6 separate regions of the Homo sapiens genome follow, and regions 1, 2, 3, 5 and 6 are each linked to region 4. Evidence: promoter capture Hi-C in 16 types of primary human blood cells and fetal thymus (Javierre and others, 2016). All regions are on one chromosome and are shown on one strand. The core of a region is centred on a gene start or on the middle of the fragment in contact, and the rest is flanking DNA. Distances in the headings are between cores, read along the strand shown. Region 1 overlaps ARAP2 (ArfGAP with RhoGAP domain, ankyrin repeat and PH domain 2). Region 2 overlaps ARAP2 (ArfGAP with RhoGAP domain, ankyrin repeat and PH domain 2). Region 3 overlaps ARAP2 (ArfGAP with RhoGAP domain, ankyrin repeat and PH domain 2). Region 4 holds the start of DTHD1 (death domain containing 1). Region 5 overlaps ARAP2 (ArfGAP with RhoGAP domain, ankyrin repeat and PH domain 2). Region 6 overlaps ARAP2 (ArfGAP with RhoGAP domain, ankyrin repeat and PH domain 2).

What was found. Contacts are between HindIII fragments. The CHiCAGO score rates a contact against its expected background, and 5 or more counts as called.
Region 1: a fragment that was not itself captured here is called in contact with the fragment with the promoter of DTHD1 in region 4 in 1 of 17 cell types (non-activated CD4 T cells); the score reaches 5.8 in non-activated CD4 T cells.
Region 2: a contact is called between a fragment that was not itself captured here and the fragment with the promoter of DTHD1 in region 4, in 4 of 17 cell types (activated CD4 T cells, total CD4 T cells, total CD8 T cells and 1 more). The highest score is 7.1, in activated CD4 T cells.
Region 3: a contact is called between a fragment that was not itself captured here and the fragment with the promoter of DTHD1 in region 4, in 3 of 17 cell types (total CD8 T cells, activated CD4 T cells and total CD4 T cells). The highest score is 5.8, in total CD8 T cells.
Region 5: a fragment that was not itself captured here is called in contact with the fragment with the promoter of DTHD1 in region 4 in 1 of 17 cell types (non-activated CD4 T cells); the score reaches 6.1 in non-activated CD4 T cells.
Region 6: a fragment that was not itself captured here is called in contact with the fragment with the promoter of DTHD1 in region 4 in 2 of 17 cell types (naive CD8 T cells and total CD4 T cells); the score reaches 5.4 in naive CD8 T cells.

The regions. Positions count from the first base shown.
Region 1 is chr4:36,125,858-36,128,601 of GRCh38, reverse strand. ARAP2 (ArfGAP with RhoGAP domain, ankyrin repeat and PH domain 2) reads left to right here. Exons shown (of 33, transcript NM_015230.4): 21 at 1-69. Among named protein-coding and RNA genes, the nearest start is that of ARAP2, 120 kb to the left of the region's middle. The HindIII fragment of the contact is 496 bases long and covers 1,190-1,685 here.
Region 2 is chr4:36,105,388-36,108,167 of GRCh38, reverse strand. It overlaps ARAP2 (ArfGAP with RhoGAP domain, ankyrin repeat and PH domain 2), which reads left to right. Exons shown (of 33, transcript NM_015230.4): 27 at 475-603. Among named protein-coding and RNA genes, the nearest start is that of ARAP2, 140 kb to the left of the region's middle. The HindIII fragment of the contact is 705 bases long and covers 949-1,653 here.
Region 3 is chr4:36,071,674-36,074,440 of GRCh38, reverse strand. ARAP2 (ArfGAP with RhoGAP domain, ankyrin repeat and PH domain 2) reads left to right here. Exons shown (of 33, transcript NM_015230.4): 32 at 618-752. Among named protein-coding and RNA genes, the nearest start is that of ARAP2, 170 kb to the left of the region's middle. The HindIII fragment of the contact is 497 bases long and covers 1,063-1,559 here.
Region 4 is chr4:36,279,773-36,282,865 of GRCh38, reverse strand. It overlaps DTHD1 (death domain containing 1), which reads right to left and starts at 1,250. Exons shown (of 10, transcript NM_001170700.3): 1 at 837-1,250. The coding sequence starts at 1,107. The HindIII fragment of the contact is 1,630 bases long and covers 543-2,172 here.
Region 5 is chr4:36,142,552-36,145,442 of GRCh38, reverse strand. The region is part of intron 19 of ARAP2 (ArfGAP with RhoGAP domain, ankyrin repeat and PH domain 2); the gene reads left to right. Among named protein-coding and RNA genes, the nearest start is that of ARAP2, 100 kb to the left of the region's middle. The HindIII fragment of the contact is 4,528 bases long and covers 1-2,891 here.
Region 6 is chr4:36,088,785-36,091,954 of GRCh38, reverse strand. ARAP2 (ArfGAP with RhoGAP domain, ankyrin repeat and PH domain 2) reads left to right here. Exons shown (of 33, transcript NM_015230.4): 28 at 1-74. Among named protein-coding and RNA genes, the nearest start is that of ARAP2, 150 kb to the left of the region's middle. The HindIII fragment of the contact is 8,569 bases long and covers 1-3,170 here.

The DNA of each region.
Region 1 (2,744 bases), core at 188-2,687, 150 kb after region 4:
GTTTTCTCTCTGACATTGATGATGCACTGCTTACTAAGGAGCTCTACCCATATTGGATCTCTGCTTTAGGTAATATTTATACAGATATTTGTAGATATGTGTGTGTGTGTGTGTGTGTGTGTGTATAATATAGACCATAATACATGCTTGCCTTTTAATACTTAGACTTTAAACATCTTTGATAAGCTGAAATTTTAATTGAAAGAAACAATGTACATAATGGCTGATAACAGAAATTATATAAATATCAATAGCTGTTTCTCTCTACCTCAAGAGAAATTCAAAATATTCACTAAATCGTTTGGTATATACTTAGTTTTCAATGGATTTCTTAGTGCATACTTTGCTTCAACTTTGGAATGTTACAGTCAAGTCCATGTGTGCTACTAATTTCTCATTAAAAATAAAATGAAGCATTTACTACAGGATACATTTTGCAAGATTTTCACCCATGACTCTTTTGTGTTTCTTCTATTATGTGTTCTACATCTTTAGTGTATATAACAATTTTTTTAACTTTTGCTTCATTTATTCTAGATTCCATCTAATGAAATAGAGTTTTGTTATACACTGTAAGAAAAGCTAATTAAGAGATGACCCTAGAAAAGGAGTTTATTAAATCCCTCATGGGTCAAATTAATTTTAGTAAAACGTGTTTTTAACCTCCGATGATTTAAAACAAGTCCTTTTATTGAAACATTACAATAACAAAGACTTAAATATAAGCATTGCCTTTCATTCCACCTTTTTACTGAAGCTACTTTTATTTTTCCATATTATAGTCCTTTTCTTCACTTTTATAATTTATGTATATGACATTTTTATTTTTATTAATAAATCATAAGCATTTCTCATATATCTATAATATTTTCCAAATGATAATTTTTATTTCTCTCTTGTTCTAGGTTTTAAAACTTACTTTTGAATTATTCCATAATTATAATGTGTTTGTCTCATATATTTAATCTCTTTCAAGATTTGGAAAATGGCTTTTGAATCTAGTCACATGGCATTCCTCTATTGAGAAGTAATTTTCCTCATTGAAAGTATTTGTTTAATCTAAAACAAGTGATATATTTAAAGAGATTAATTTTCAAATGATGTCACAAAACATGCACAGTTTGAAAATTATCCCAAGAATGACCCTAGTTAGTGTCAGCAAAAGTAGTATTATAATGAAAATAAAGCTTCTCACGATATAACTACCTTTCAGAAGTCTTTCATTTGCCTTCTAATGTTTCTCAAATCAGTAGGGTTCACTGTAATCACAAGAAGAATTAAGTGTATAATTTTCTAAGATATAAAACACAGAGCTAAATACATTGCTTTAAGCTCAGTTACCTTGCACCCCTCATTTTTGTTTTAAGAAATTGTATTGAAATGTATGAAGCTGTTTAGAGTATCTCTACTTTATAGACTTATAATTTGTCTTTATTATAAAATTGGTTATCAGTAGTACATGGCAAGACTGGGCACAGTGGCTCACGCCTATAATCCCAGCATTTTGGGAGGCCAAGGCAGGAGGATAGCTTGAGGCCGGGAGTTTGAGACCAGCCTGGGCAATATAGTGAGACCTTGTCTCCACAAAAAATAGAAGTGTTAGCTCAGGCATGATGTGCTCCTGTAGGCTCAGCTATTCTGAAGACTGAGGTGGGAGGATCACATGAGCCCAGGAATTCCAAGCTTCAGTGAGTTGTGATGGTGCCACTGTACTCCAGCCTGGGTGACAGGGCTGAGACCCTGCGTGTTAAACAACAACAACAACAGCGACAAATATATATTTGCTAAAGTTGTCAAATTGAGTGACAAACAAGTCTTCACTGTTGTCAGTCTACCAGAACAAGGTAGTCAGCAGGGGTAGGAGTGTTCACCTTTCACTTGCATGTGAGTTCTTGGAGAATTTATTTGGAGAAGGCTTTGAATACTGGGTCAAGTAACCTTTAACTCCTTTGCTTTTGCCAACAGTATAGTTTAGCTGGACCCTTCAAAAGTGGCCATGTTGGGCCTGAAAAGAATAAACTAGTACTGTCTAAGTGAATTCATAAAACTCTTTTGATGTACTGTATACCTGAGGTAGAGAATGCCTTATAGCCGTGTACCACCTATATTTATATGACATATGATCTGTTCTTCTAGGAGGACTGTTAACTTATATGTTTCGTTGAATTGCTCATTGTATTTTCTATATGGCCTGAAATCATTCCTGAGTTTTACTTTCAATTTATTTAGCTTTATTTTGAAAATATCATCTATTTTATAAGATTTGTGGAAATATGCATACTAGCATGACTTTTTGTTTTAAGCGTAGTAGTGTTAAATTTTAAGGAATAAATGCAATTTCTCCTACAGTTAGAAACTGGATAACGCGAGGATAAATGTTTGCATTATACTGGGAATTATACATAATTAATTTCCAGTAATGTCTTTGAATGTAATTTGGGTGTTTCCCCCTCTTTCTTATAGAGAGTCATCTACTAGTGCACTTAATTCAGTATACTCATGTGTATGGCTATTGCTTTCAGGTACAGGCTAAATCAGTACAAAAGAGATATCACTTGCAATTTTGAATAGGTGTGCACTTGAAAACTGTGTCATACAGAGTTTCTTACCTAGCCAGGGATCCTAATGTCCTTTACAAGTGACTTTGTACTTTTAAGACATCATTAGCGTGCTGCTGATTTTCTGTGAATAGAAGAGGTAAGGCTAAGCAAGAAATAAAATCGTCTTGTTTCCAAAGATAGTTG
Region 2 (2,780 bases), core at 52-2,551, 170 kb after region 4:
CCACCACTTTGGGAGGCAGTGGTGGGAGGGTAGCCTGAGCTCAGAAGTTTGAGGCTACAGTGAGCTAGGATTGCATCACTGCACTCCAGCCTAGGTGACAGGGTGAAACCCTGTCTCAAAATAATAATAATAATAATAATGTATTGTACAAGGGGTAGAATTTATTATACAAAAGGTAGAATTCTGAGATTTTTATCAAAAGTACTTCTGATTTTTAAAAATAGTTCAGTAACAGGTATTCCTGCATGATTAATTTATATAGTAAATGTTATTATGTGCTTAATAATTTTCTAGGTCTTAGGATATCTTTTACATAGTCATAGTGCTATTACTGTATAATATAACATAAGATATGATTGTGTATAATGTTGCCTACAGATGTTTTCAAATGGATTTTTTAAAATTTATGATTATAAAATAAAAAATTGTTATCCTCATATATTTTCCATTTGATTTGGAATTTATTTTTTACAGAGCGTCCTCTTCACTACAAGGAAAATGTACTGGAGCAGGTGCTTCGGTGGAGTTCATTAGCTGAACCTGGCTCTGCTTACCTGGTGGTGAAGAGATTCTTAACCGCTGACACAATTAAACACTGCAGTGGTAGGTGTCATTACTTCACATTGCAGCTATGATTGAAAATTCAAGTGGTTAAAGGGTAATTAATATGGCACAAGTAATATTTGAAAATGTGAAAAACGAGTAGCTAGATACAGAATGAACTGAGATAGTACATATATAAGAAAGAAGAATATATGGACAGGAAGATATTTTCCCAATGTGTTGCTCTGTGGTAATAGTTGGCTAATTTGATTGTACCAAGTTCAGGTTTTTGGAAATAATAGTTTGTTTTTAAAGGTTGTTTACCATGCTTATGCTTATGTATTTTCCTCAATTTTTAGACTGAGGGCAAGTCATCTCTGTGAATTACATTTACATTAGAAAGCTTTCTAGGCATTAAAGGAATGCTAATTATATAGGCTCTGAGATAGAGTGCTTGCTATATATCTCACATTTTTGTGATGAAGTTGGAAAATAAATACTTACAAAATAAAATACTTCCAGTAAGAATGCTTCCCATCCAACTGGAAGGAGATAGTGCTCATGTACGGTTAATTAAGTAAGTTAGCTAGCACAGTGAACTATATAAGACCATTTCTGAACCTCTATGAGATCTCAGAAAATTTTTATTTTGAAACTTAATTATTCTTCTGTTGTGTTGTTATCAACTGAAAGATCAAAAAAAAGCCAGGATTATATACAATCCAACTCAATAAGCTAAGGATTGAAATTTATGATTACTTTTATGATTAATATAAATAATAACCATTATTATTTCTTAATTGCATACCAGCAGAGCTCAACACACACCAAAGCTCATTTAAAGTTTTTTTTAACTTCCTTGTAAGTTATATTACCTTTTGAATTTTACAAATGAAGGGAAGAGAAACTCAGAGAACTTAAGTAATTTGCCTTATATTATTCAGTTACTAAGTATTGAATTGAAGAACTGATTGGTGTTCCTCCTAATTTTAATCATGTGAAAAAAGGTGGGGAGGATGGTACAGCTCTTCAGTGCTGTAAACTACTCAGTATCATTGCAGATTCTCTAGTTAATAGTCATAATTCAGAGCTCTTAATTGTACCAAAGCTTATCATATAAACTTCTGATTTAATACACTGTCTTTTATATCTTACATACTTTTACTTACGTGAAAGTACTTTTACAAAATGCAAGTAGTATAACAACTTTTATGTCATTGTGTTCTTATAAGCATCTAAAAAGCCAAAACAGATACTAACTCTTTATACTGTAGAAATGTAGCCTTTCCGAGACCTTTATCCTGTTTGAAATTTTTTCATGCTCTTACATATGATTCTGACCATATACTGCCTGTGCCTTCTTAATGTTTGCAATAGGATTTCTCTGTACTGATGTGAATGCACATGTATGAATGCACATGTCATAAAGTAGTGGCTTTCAGCTAGGAATGATTTCCCCTCCCTCCCCTCCCCGCCCACAAGACATGGAACATACAATGTCTTAAGACATTTCTGACTGTCACAACTTGGAGATTGGGTAGGGAGGCAGGGCTTCTGGTATTTAGTGGGTACAGACCAAGGGTCACTGCTGATGTTGAGAAACCCTAATTTAGATAATCTGTGATATCTGTTCTAATTCTTTATCTTTCTGTTGAAATTTTTATTTGTTTCTTTTCTTCTGATATTCCTCTGCAATATCTCTAATTCTCCATGTTGCAACATGTTTAAAACCTACACCTAGACATAATACCTTTGCTGTTGTGTGAATGCTAGTAGGTTGGCTATATGAATAAAAATGGATAAGAATTAGATCCTAAAAGGCTATGTTATAAGTGAAGGTTCTGTATGTCTGAGGGTGCGGGTAACCCAAAACAAGTTCACCATTAAATGCTATTAATCTTCGGGGCATGGCTGGGGGTGGGTGGCAAACAACCCAACAAGGTGTAGATTGCGCTGGTTTAGAGCAGTCATATCTGGGTAAAACCTTTGTTGTGTAAGGGCAAGAAGAAATGGTACAGTGACAGCTGGTACGTTGGCTGTAACCACAAACTGGGTAGGAAGATTTGGTGTTTTCGTGATGTTCCACCTATCCCATTACATCTTCTAGATGGAGTTATGAGTGTGTCCTTCTGTTATAAAAGCATCAAGCCTCTGTAAGATCTAGACAAAGAATCTTGTAGAAAAAAAGCTAGAGAAGAACTAGAGAAGCAAAGCAGAAGAAAGCAAGCTGGAGGCTT
Region 3 (2,767 bases), core at 62-2,561, 210 kb after region 4:
TAATTATTTAGAAGGCAAGAATATATAGTCAATGATTTGAGAACAAATGTGCCCCACTCTCCGTTGTACAATGATTTTCAGTAAAGATGTTGAAATGTCTGAGTAAAAAGATTATATTTCTTTGGAATTCAATTAGATAAAATAGTAACATTTTTCAAGAGGTCATAAAGTTAGGCTAATTTTTCTGATAGTCATGCCTTAGGTTGATTTGGGATATATAAGATGAAATTATTTTTACACTGAAATCATATTTGGTGTAAATGTATAGTTACTTAGATTACAGTGCCTAGCAATGTAGACAAGTGTACTATTTTTCTTCCACAAAGAGATTTGCCAGTTGCCTCAAATACTTTTCCCCTTTTGGTTTGATAAGTAGTATAGAAGGCATGTATTTGAAACTTAGAAATTGAGCTGAGACCTCAAAGCTCAGTTCAGTTAAGAGTTTCATGTCCTGGAGCGATGCTGCCACCAGAGTCAACATCATAATCACAAATGGAATTCTCATGGAAATCAGATCATTTGATGTGGATATGTGGGAAAGAAACCAAGTGGCTTTATGACATAGTATACCACATAATAAAATCACACACCAACAGCAAGAAATTGTGTTTCCACAGCATGAATATGATATATGGCCACCAGCTGGAAAGGAACGAAAACGTTCAATAACCAAAAATCCCAAAATTGGAGGTTTGCCTCTGATTCCTATACAGCATGAGGGGAATGCAACCTTGGCCCGGAAAAATATTGAGGTAGGTTAGGATTTTGTTTGTTTTATATTCAATTATAGAATATATTTTCCTGTGTCATAATGTGATTAGGTCATTAATTACTTCATTGGCTTCAAAAGCACAATAATAATCACTTTGTAAAGCATGGTAATAATCACATACAGCAAGAAAACAGTATGAATAACCTTATACCTTTTATTTTAATATCATTGACCACCCAATCACATATGCACAATACTACTTATTTTCTTACCTCTAAAGTAGCCAATTTAAAATATGCGTATAGAAATTCTGGTGGTAAAATCACAACTTCAAATTCGTTTTACAAGCTTACTTAAAACACCTTCAGAGTAAGCCCATAGCAGAATATGTCTGGAGCCCTGGTAACTAAACTTTCTAGTAATATAATCACATTCCAGTGCTTTGGGAACTGATGGGGTCTCTCAGTTAATTTAAGGACCTACAAGATGACCCCTGAGAATCAAGAAAGAAGATTTGGCATCTTTCATGAAAGCTACTGTTTGTTTTCCTTCTCACCTTGAGGGTTGGGAGATCATAAGCGGCATCAATCTTGACATGAAGTTTGGCCTCTTCAGCAAAGAACATAGGCTGTTTACTCTCAAAACTCATTAGCCATTTTGGGACCAACACATATTTCAGTGTCTTAATTGAGTCTCTGAAAGCAAAAAGAAAAGCAGTTAGAAGGTGTTCTTATATCTTCCTTGAGCCTAAATTTGGAATTAAGCTGTTCAAATCTTTTGCTCTCCAAACAGAAATAACTTTTGAAAGACGAAAGCCATTTTAACCTAGTGATCAGATTTTTAAGCTTTTTGTGCATATCCTTTCTTGAACATTTATCCCACTGTAATATTCCTTCTCTAAAAGAGAAAAGCTTCAAAAATAATGGTCCTTTGTTTACTGCTTAGTCATTCTGCCCTGATGTAATCAAAGTAAGGAATATGTCTCCAAGAAATCATGACCTTGTCATTTCTTCCATTCTGTACCTAGTTTTTTTTTTTGTTTTTTTTGGGGTTTTTTTTTTGTTTTTTTTTAGGTAATAAACCGCTCTGCAGAGTTCCTTATCTAATCAAGTATCTTAAAATTCTAAGAGTTACATTTCCCAGGAACCCAGGACAGGGAACACAGGCTGAACAGATGAAACTAACATAGGGAGAGATACGCCCTACAGTGACTGTAGAACCTTTTGACATTGCCTTCAGATCAATTATCGGCAAAGCAAAATAAATTATTGGGATCAAAATACATTAACCAGTATCTAATATAGATGATGATTGACTGTATAATAATTTCTTAGCCTTATCCCAAATCCACAATTTCAGAGACAATTTTTAACATATTTAAGATAGGAAAACTGAAGAACTGAAACTATAAAGTGTTTACAAGCTTTTAAAAGAATTACATGCATTTTCAATTACTGGAAAATTTCTGAGTCTTTAAAATAAACCAAGCTCTTTGTAAGATTAGTAAATATAAGGTAGTTTGGTGATTTGATAAATTTGGCAAAGACATTTTTTAAATGTTTAATTTTGGAAAAACATAATGAAACTTACTTTATAAGGCAATAATAGAAATTTTTTTAAAAAAATTCATATAAACCATGAAAATATCTGCCATAATATTAGATTCATATAAAAATTTTAAAAAATATATTTACAAAATAACTAACCATTTTTGACCCTTTGTTTTAAAAATGAAAAGTGAGTTAAAATATTAAGTATTTCAAGAACAAAAAACCAAACACCGCATATTCTCACTCATAGGTGGGAATTGAACAATGAGATCACATGGACACAGGAAGGGGAATATCACACTCTGGGGACTGTGTTGGGGTGGGGGGAGCGGGGAGGGATAGCATTGGGAGATATACCTAATGCTAGATGACGAGTTAGTGGGTGCAGCGCACCAGCATGGCACATGTATACATATGTAACTAACCTGCACAATGTGCACATGTACCCTAAAACTTAAAGTATAATAAAAAAAAAAGAAAAAAAATTAAAAAAAAACTCAAAAAA
Region 4 (3,093 bases), core at 1-2,500:
ATTGTGGGCTGCAGCTGATGGCTTCTCAGTCATGCTGCCTTTAGACAGATTTCCCTGATGCCCACTATTTGCCCTTTAGATTGAATTTCTTAACATCATCTACCCTGGATTTCCTCATAGATGGAACCTGCCCACTTATCTTGATACTGTATTATTTAGAGTTGAATTTCATGATGCCACCTATATGCTTATCTGGAGTAACTGTTGTTATCTAGGATTATATTCATCAGATTCCACATTCTTCCTGCCTTACTGTACTTTTCCACATCCATAACTGGACCTATTCCCAAGAATCCCTCTCCAGCCCCAGTGCATGGGGATCCAATTCCCTATCCCAACCCACTCCAGTCTTCCCAGTAATTTTGCAATCAATAAGGCTAAGCTCAAATGACCCTAGAGATAGAATACTATATTCTGATATAAAAAACAAACTACTAGCTCTGCCTCAGTGGCCTGTATTTTCCTGTCTCTAAGTCTTGGATCCTACTAAAATTACCGACTCTCTCTTTCCTGCTGCATAAATCCAATTCACTCTTTAAGCTTCAGCTTAAATACTACATTTTTCTAGCAAACTTCTCAATTCCCCACCCTACAGATGGGATTTAAACTGCTTCTGAAGTCCAAAAGCACTTCATTCATGTGTTTCTAATGGGACTGGCCCCAATGTCCCTGGCATTATTGTGCATTTGTCTCAACTTATTTCCCCTTTGAAATTGTTAGTCTCTTGTGGACAGAAACTCTATCTTAGCCTATCTGGTATACTCATAGCCCCTCTCAGATCTTGCCCTAATCAATATTTCTTAGAGAAAGAATAAACTAAAAAAAAGAATACTTGCCTTTTCTCGAGACACATTGATTCTCTTTGTCAAGCAGCACATGCAGCTGCTGGCAGGTGGAACGCAGGGTGCCTGAGGTGTGCTCCAGCAGCTGGTGAAGGGCACTGCTGAGTTCCTGACCCAGAAAGACCACAGTGGCCATCCAAGTGGCCCCACCAGCCCCCTCACAAAGGTCATCACCCAAGAGTGCCTGCTTTAGCATCTGGTTTTGTCTCCAAATCTGCTTCAATATTTGGCCCAGTTTACCTGAGCCCATGTATTCCATATCCATTTTATGATCCAAAAGTGGTATTTTCTCTCCTGCCAGCAAAGCCTAAAGGTTTTGCAAATTCAAACTTTGTGATTGTTATTTCTCCTAAACTCTAGGAGATGATCCGAGTCAGCTAGCCCAGCACTTTCTCACAACATAGTGGTTATTCAGTTTGGTGTTGACTAGTGAAAAGTTACTAGGTGACCGAAGAAGGGGCGTTCCTGTACCATGGGTGCTACTGTGTACAGAATACATTAATCACTGGGGTAGAGCTGACTCACATGATCCAACTCTCTGTGTAAGTTTTACAAATTCAATATACTGTGGAAGTACCAAATACTTTTCAAGTTTTGAGGCAACAAAATACAGATTCCAGGTAGGGTAAGAAGTTTATTAATCAAAGGTAAACTGTATGAACAATATTGCTGGCAGGATTCCTGTAAACTTAAAAATATTTATGAATGAAATAATGTGATGTCTGATTTTGCTTCTAAATAATCAGGGAGCATAGGGGTGGGTAGAGGTATAAAATTTGCTGTAAGAATTAATAAATGTTGAAGCTGGATATGTTTACACATGGGGTCTTGACAATTCACTCTAATTAATGTGTATATGTATAGTATTTTTATAACCAAGAGTTTAAAAAGATTCCTCTACTGGAGCAGAGCCTATTGCATTGGTTAGGAAGTTATAATTAGCATCTTCTTATGTGGTAAATCTGCAGAGACTGAGATAAGAACTTGGCCTCTGATAATTTCCCTCTAATTGGATAAAATGCCCCTTCACTGAAAGAAAGTAAACCTGAAGAGTAGCTTTCTCTAAACTAGCAAGGATTCTTTACCATATGTAATTAAAATTCAGATACAACAAGCTCTCCCCACTGCTGCCCATCTGCCTGCCAGCGCATCATATATGGGGCTATGCAATGCAGCACTTGCGGGTATTTGGAGGAAACCAGAACAGTCTGCCTCCCTCTCTCCAATCCCACTGCTCAGAGAGAACACACACCTAAGCCAAAGGAAGAGGGCAGCAAGTACATTCCAGAGAGGCTCATGTTCCCTCGGGTACTGGAACAAAATGAAAGCTTTTCAAGTGGAAGCCGGAGTGCTTCCCTCCCACAGGCAACACATTATCTCATCTTAAGCCCTGGAGTTCTAAGAGCTACACTCAGGGCACCTGGAAGACAAGATGGGAAAAACAAGCCCAGAGAATAAATAATGAAGAATGACTGCCACTGCCCTAAAGACTGTCAAAGACCCTGAAGGAAAGGAGCAGTATTGAGTACTGGTGGCTGCAGAGTGGAGAGGGGCTCCTTCACCACTAAGTGTCTTATTTTTCAGTTAACTTCTGTTCACTGAAAAGGGGACCTTTTTCGCAGTATGAGTTCATATCACTTCATGGATTGGATCATTTAAATCTTCTCAAACTAAAGACTCACTCATTCAATTCTATTTTCTTTTCTTACTCCTTAAATGGATGTGTCATTCTCAATAATAATGTACACATGGCTTTAATTCAATGCTAATTTTGAAAACTTCCTATAGCATTTACTGTGGGACAGGAACTAAGTGCTGGAGGTCAGGCCTTTTTAGGATTTCAAGAGACAGATGCATGAACAGATTATTGAAATAAAGCTTAGTCTGTGTTGAGAGCTAGAGCAGAAGTATAAAGAAAAAGTATCATAAAAGCTTTGAGGAGTTAAAAAAATAATTCTGCTTAGAGGCCTGGAAAATGTTTGAATTAGAAACTAAAGGATAAGCAGGCTATGGAGTAAAAGAAAAAAAATATTCCAGCATAGGAAATAATATGATCAAAGTCACGGAGGCATGAGATTACACAGTAGGATCAAAAATGTAAAAGTATGGCTTTGGAGGAAGGTTCAGTTAACGAGTCAGAGGTGACAAATGAAGAGTTCAGTAATTGTAGATAGTGAGGAGAAGAAATTAGAATTTTGGTTTACAGATAAGACAGAAATTGAATATATTTGAATCAGACTGCAATGTGATG
Region 5 (2,891 bases), core at 171-2,670, 140 kb after region 4:
GTATTTGATTTTCTGTTTCTGTGTTAATTCACTTAGGATAAGGACCTTCAGCTGCATCCATGTTGCTGCAAAGGACTTGACTTCATTCCTATTTATGGTTGTGTAGTATTCCATGGTATATATGACGACATTTTCCTTAGCCCGTCAACCACTGATCGGCACTTGAGTTGATTCCACGTCTTTACTCTTGTGAATAGTGCTGTGATAAACATATGAGTTCAGGTGTCTTTTTGGTAGAACCATTTTTTTTTCCTTTGGATAGATACCTAGTAGTGGGATTGCTGGATCAAATGGTAGTTCTATTTTTAGTTCTTTGGGAAATCTTCAAACTGCCTTTCTTCTTCAACAAATTGGTTTTTTTCCCCTTGGCTTCTTGTAATTTGCTTAAAAAAACTCTTAATTACACTGGTTCAGTATGGTTTGCTGTATAATAGTGCAAGATTATTTGTATTCTTACAATAAAGTAAGCTAGAGAAAAGAAAATGCTATTAAAATCATAAGGGAAAACATATTTACTATTCATTAAGTGGAAGTAGATCATCATGAAGGTATTCATCTGTGTCGTCTTTATATATGTAGGTTGAGGAGGAGGAGAGGTTGATCATGCTGTCTCAGGGGTGGCAGAGGCAAAAGAAAAATCTGTGTATAAAGGGATCTGTGCAGTTCAATCTTATCTTGTTCAATGTTTAACTGCGATATAAAAATATAGCTAAATAAGCCTTCATTTGATTATTTTTATTGCTGTGACAAGGATAATGACTTTCAGTGGTTATCTGAACCTGCCTTTCCTTCAACTTCATGGGACGACATCAAGAGCTTTATACAGCGAGCATATTGCTGATTAGATATTTATGTCAGATTGTGTTTTTTAGCTTCTAGGCGTAATTAGGACTTTGCATTTTTACTTATTTCTTAGATTATTATGGTTAATGATACTTTAGATTCTTATTTTTGTTACTAGATGATGATTTCACTATACCGTGAGAGTATTGTTAATTTTATGTCCAGAAATAATGAGGAATTATTAGGTATAGATAGGATTTGACATTAAAATACTAGCATAAATGCAGTTTTACAATCATTTATTAATATTTATGGAATGCCTACTAACTGCTACTTCCATGGCAGGAAAATAAAAAAGGTAAACAATTCAAACTTGGTGTCTGACCCCTCAGAGCTTATGTTCTTAAACAAATAGACAAGTATCAGCTTAACAAATGTGTTTATCCTTTTCATTTTTTCAGGTTATTATAACCAACGTATTTTTGTACCCTTTTTTTTAACCTATGGAGTATTTGGCCAATGATACATAGGTTTTAATTAAAATGTAGCAAACATGGATTAGAATGATTCAGTTTAATGTAATTCTATTTAGTGCTTACTGCATGCAGTCCAGCCCCTCATATATGGAAGATATGGAAGCCAGAGCACTAAATGTTTTATTATTTTGTACATTTTGATCTTACCGCTGGACTGCAGAAATCAGGAGATGAAATTCATTTGTAATATTATTTTTGAGTTCATGGAAAAGTAGAAAACTAATGAAATTCCAAAATAATGGTCACAGACAGTTAATAACATTTTTGGTAATTGAAAGTTTTCGTCTACATGTGTTACTAACAAGTTATGTTCAAAGTATTTTTATGAAAGTGAAGAGTAATAATAGGAGTGGGAGAAATGTGAGGATAAATATAACCAAGTTACTTTCTGTAAATCTCTTCGTATAGCTAATGTACCATCCCCACCATTTAAACGCAATTATATTATCACATGCTTCTGTCTTTGGTTTACTTGCTTTTCCTTTTTACTCCAAATCAATAATCATCTGATAATAACAATGATGACAATGGGGGCAGTTACCATGTGCCAAGCCCCATTTTAAGTACTTAAACAGCCTTCTTTTGCCTATATGGTATTGAGGAAAATAATTCATTTTGAAGTTAAAGTAAGGTCAATTTGTAACTTAAATTTTTTTTTAAAAATCAAGTGTTCAGTATTAATTTACCAATACCTTTGTAGAGATCTTTCTCAGGATATAAAGCAACAAGTGTTCTAGGAGTCTGGATAGACACTATAAGTTACTAGAATTCAAAATTGAAGCATTTATTAGAAAAATAAAAATGTTTACTAGAAAACATTTTTATAAAATTATTAGAAAACGTGTCCATAGAATTCCTACCTAATTGAAAATGGAGTAGAGAGAAGGGAGGTCCACCGTGTGCATAAAAGTAAAGAATCTGCACAATAGATGCCAAGAATGTGAGGTTATGAACCCTGATAGAACAAGAACAAAGACTATACATACGTGACAGGCACAGCACCCTGTATGGTGCAAAACAGAGTCTCATATCTACTTATTTACATAGACACATAAACATATGTTTGTGTATTCTGTGACTACATAGACATCATATAGGAAATAGTGGAAAAAGGAGCAGGTTTGGGAGAGAGCCTGGGAGATAATGAGTTTAAGACATGTTGAGCATGAGATTCTTATAAGAAATCTAAGAATAAATTGATGGGAGAAAGTTATTTTTTATGGATAAGATATTCATGAAAAGATTAACAGATTGGAGATACAGATTTTGGAGTTGCCAGCGTAAAGAAGGAAGAAAGTGAAATTACTTAGGGTGATTCTGTGGAAATAAAAAGGAAGAAGTCCTGTGTTGGAGCTTTGATGACTATACATCATTTTGGGTTAGGGGAATTTGTCAGGGAGAAGTAGCTGCTTGTTTCCTCAGAGAGTGAGGCCAGAAACTAAGAGAGAGTACAAAGTGTTACAAAGCCCAGGAAGAGGGTGTCTCAAAAAGGAAGGATCAGTTAAAAATGTCAAGTGCTGACAGAAGGACATGCCTAGTGAGAATACATACTCCATAAGATAAGTGATTTGG
Region 6 (3,170 bases), core at 585-3,084, 190 kb after region 4:
TATCTGGAAATAAGTTTCAAGACCGGTATTTTGTTTTACGAGATGGGTTTCTCTTTCTTTACAAGGATGTGAAGGTATAGTATTTGAACATGCGTACATTTTTATTTGTGTGGGTATTAACATTTGTATTTTATGCTACTGTCAGCCATCTCTCTTGGAAGTCACTGCCTGTAGTATATAAAATGCATGGTAAGCTGATGATTTGCTTCAGCCTATGGTATAAGATATTAATGCACTCAGTAACACAGTGAATAATTTTATAAGGCCTTTTTAGGCACCTCAGATTTTGAGGGGCAGTAAATGACTTAAGCCCTGAAGAAAAGTCTAATATGTATTATAAATCAACATCTCAGTCAATAAAATTAATAGAGAATGTGTGATACCCTAAAATAAAAGGCTTCAGATTAGCTACTGGAAATTAATAAAAGGTGCAATAAAATGACCAAACCCAAAAGTTAAAATAAATCTTATTAGTATCTTTCCTATATGGTTGAATGAATTGACTTATTTTTAATTTCATATGTATTAATGTAATCTTATTGATATATTCCGTCTAATTTATTTCCCTAAAAGATCTTATTAAATAATTGTGGAGTGGATAAGAGAATTAGAGATATAAAAGAGGGAGTAGATAAATGATGTAGCTATAAAAATATTGAACTTAACATCAGAAAATCTCATCTCTGTGAAGAGCTGGTTACATGAATAAGTAACTTAACCTCTCAACCTCAGTATCCAAATCTGTAATTTAAGATAGTATGAGTTCTGCATGTCAGGTTGTTTTAATGCTTAAAAAATAATATATGATTTTTTTTATATTCTCTGGGTGCAGGTTACACCAGTATGTTCACTTTATTAAAATTCACGGAGCTAATATGTATGATTTGTGTACTTTTTATATGTGTATTATATATACACTGCAATTTTTAAAAAGCATTAGGATAAAAAAAGTAAAACAAATGTGCACAGGCCCCACCTCCAGGGATTTGGTTTTTATAAGACTGCGACAGGTTAACAGCATTTTTCTTTAATTTGTTGAAATTTTTTTTTGGTTTTTAAGTTCAGGAGTGCAAGTGAAAATTTGTTAGATAGGTAAACTTGAGTCATGGGGATTGGTTTTACACATTATTTCATCACTTAGGTATTAAGCCTAGTGCTTATTAGTTGTTTTTTCTAATCCTCTACGCTCCACCAACCAAAAGGCCCCAGTGGGTGTTGTTCCCCTCTATGTGTCCATGTGTTCTCATCATTTAGCTCCCACTTGTAAGTAAGAACATGCGTTATTTGTTTTTCTATTCCATGCTAGTTTGCCAACGATAATGGCCTCCAGTTCTATCCATGTTCTTGCAAAGGACATGATCTCATTCTTTTTTATGGATGCATACTGTTCCATGATCGTGGTGGATAAGCCTTTTGGTGTGCTGGTGAATTCAATTTGCCACTATTTTGTTGAGGATTTTTGCACTGATGTTTCATCAAGGATATTGGACTGAGGTTTTCTTTTTTGTTGTATCTCTGTCAGGTTTTGGTATCAGGATGATGCTGACTTCATAGAATGAGTTAGGAAGGAGTCCCTCCTCAATTTTTTGGAATAGTTTCAGTAGGAATGGTACCAGATCTTATTTGTACATGTGGTAGAATTCAGCTGTGAATCCCTCCGATTCCTGGGATTTTTGTGGTTGGTAGGCTTTTTATTACTGCTTCAATTTCAGAACTGGTTATTGGTCTGTTCGGGGATTCAGTTTCTTCCTGGTTTAGTCTGGGAGGCTGTATGTGTCCAGGAATATACCCATTTCTTCTAGTTTTTCTAGTTTATATGCATAGAGGTATTCATAATATTCTTTGATACTTGTTTATATTTCTATGGGGTCAGTAGTAATATCCCCCTTATTGTTTCTGATTGTGTTTATCAAATATTCTCTCTTCTTTATTAGTCAAGCTAGTGGTCTAATAATATATGTAAAAATTCTTTTTATAAATATAATGTAATAATAATAGCATGCTCATCCAAAGATACCACTAAGAATATGAATAGGCAAGTCCCAGATTGAGAAAAATGTATTAATAGGTGTACTAATAGTCCCAGATTGAGAAAATGTGTTAATTAACATATATCAGAAAAAGACTTATATCAGGAGTATAAAGAGCTCTTCTAAATCAACAATAAGAAAAGCAGTTCAATAAAAATTATGGCAAGGATAGAACAGACATTACATGAAGGAAGATGTAGAAATGTCCAATAACCCATTGATTCAAAAGTGTTCAATATCATTAATAATCGGGAAATTAAAACTAGAACCACAAGACACTATTTTACACTCATTGGTATGACTAAAATCTTAACAGTGATAACACCCAATGTTAAAAAATGATGTAGAGTAATTAGAACTCCCACATAAATTGTTGGTGGAAGGGTAAAATCACACAATCACTCTGTAAAACTGTTTGTCAGTTTTTAAATGAAGTTACTAACATAATCTACCCCATGATCCAGTGGCTCTACTCAAGCAGTACAACTACTTGTACTCACTTGTACAAGAATGTTCATAAGCAGATTTATTCATAAAAGCTGATAACTGGAAGCATTCCAAATGTCCACCAATAGGAAAATATTCTATTCATATAATGGAATACTACTCAGCAACAAAAATGAATATTAAAACAAGCCACAGCATTGGTGAGTTTTTAAAACCTTTGAAACCAAAGAAACTTGACACAAAATAGTATCATATAAGTCTGTGCATAAGAAGTCTAAGAACAGGCAGAACCATTCTATGGTGATAGAAGTCAGAAAGTGTTTGCTTAGGTTGGGGACAGAGTTTGCTGCAGAATTGCCAAGGAAAAGGGTCAGTGGGGTACTTTCTAGATAGAAATGTTCTTTCTCCTGTTTTGGATGGTGGTCACATGGGGGTATGCAGCAACAACTCTCTGAGATTCAAGTAGTACCAAGGCAATTACTTTAAATGTAGAATGGAAGTCAGCAGGACCTGGAAAATACTTTTTAAATATTGAATTATAAAATTCACTTGGGTAAACATTGCTTGCACACTTATAAGTGAATGATGCTTCACTGTGTTCTGTTGTGGAGATGCACAAAGAAAGACCAGACTTTAACATCTGTTAATATGTTACAAAGAAAGAATTGTTAGGCAGCTTTCCAAAGCTGTGGC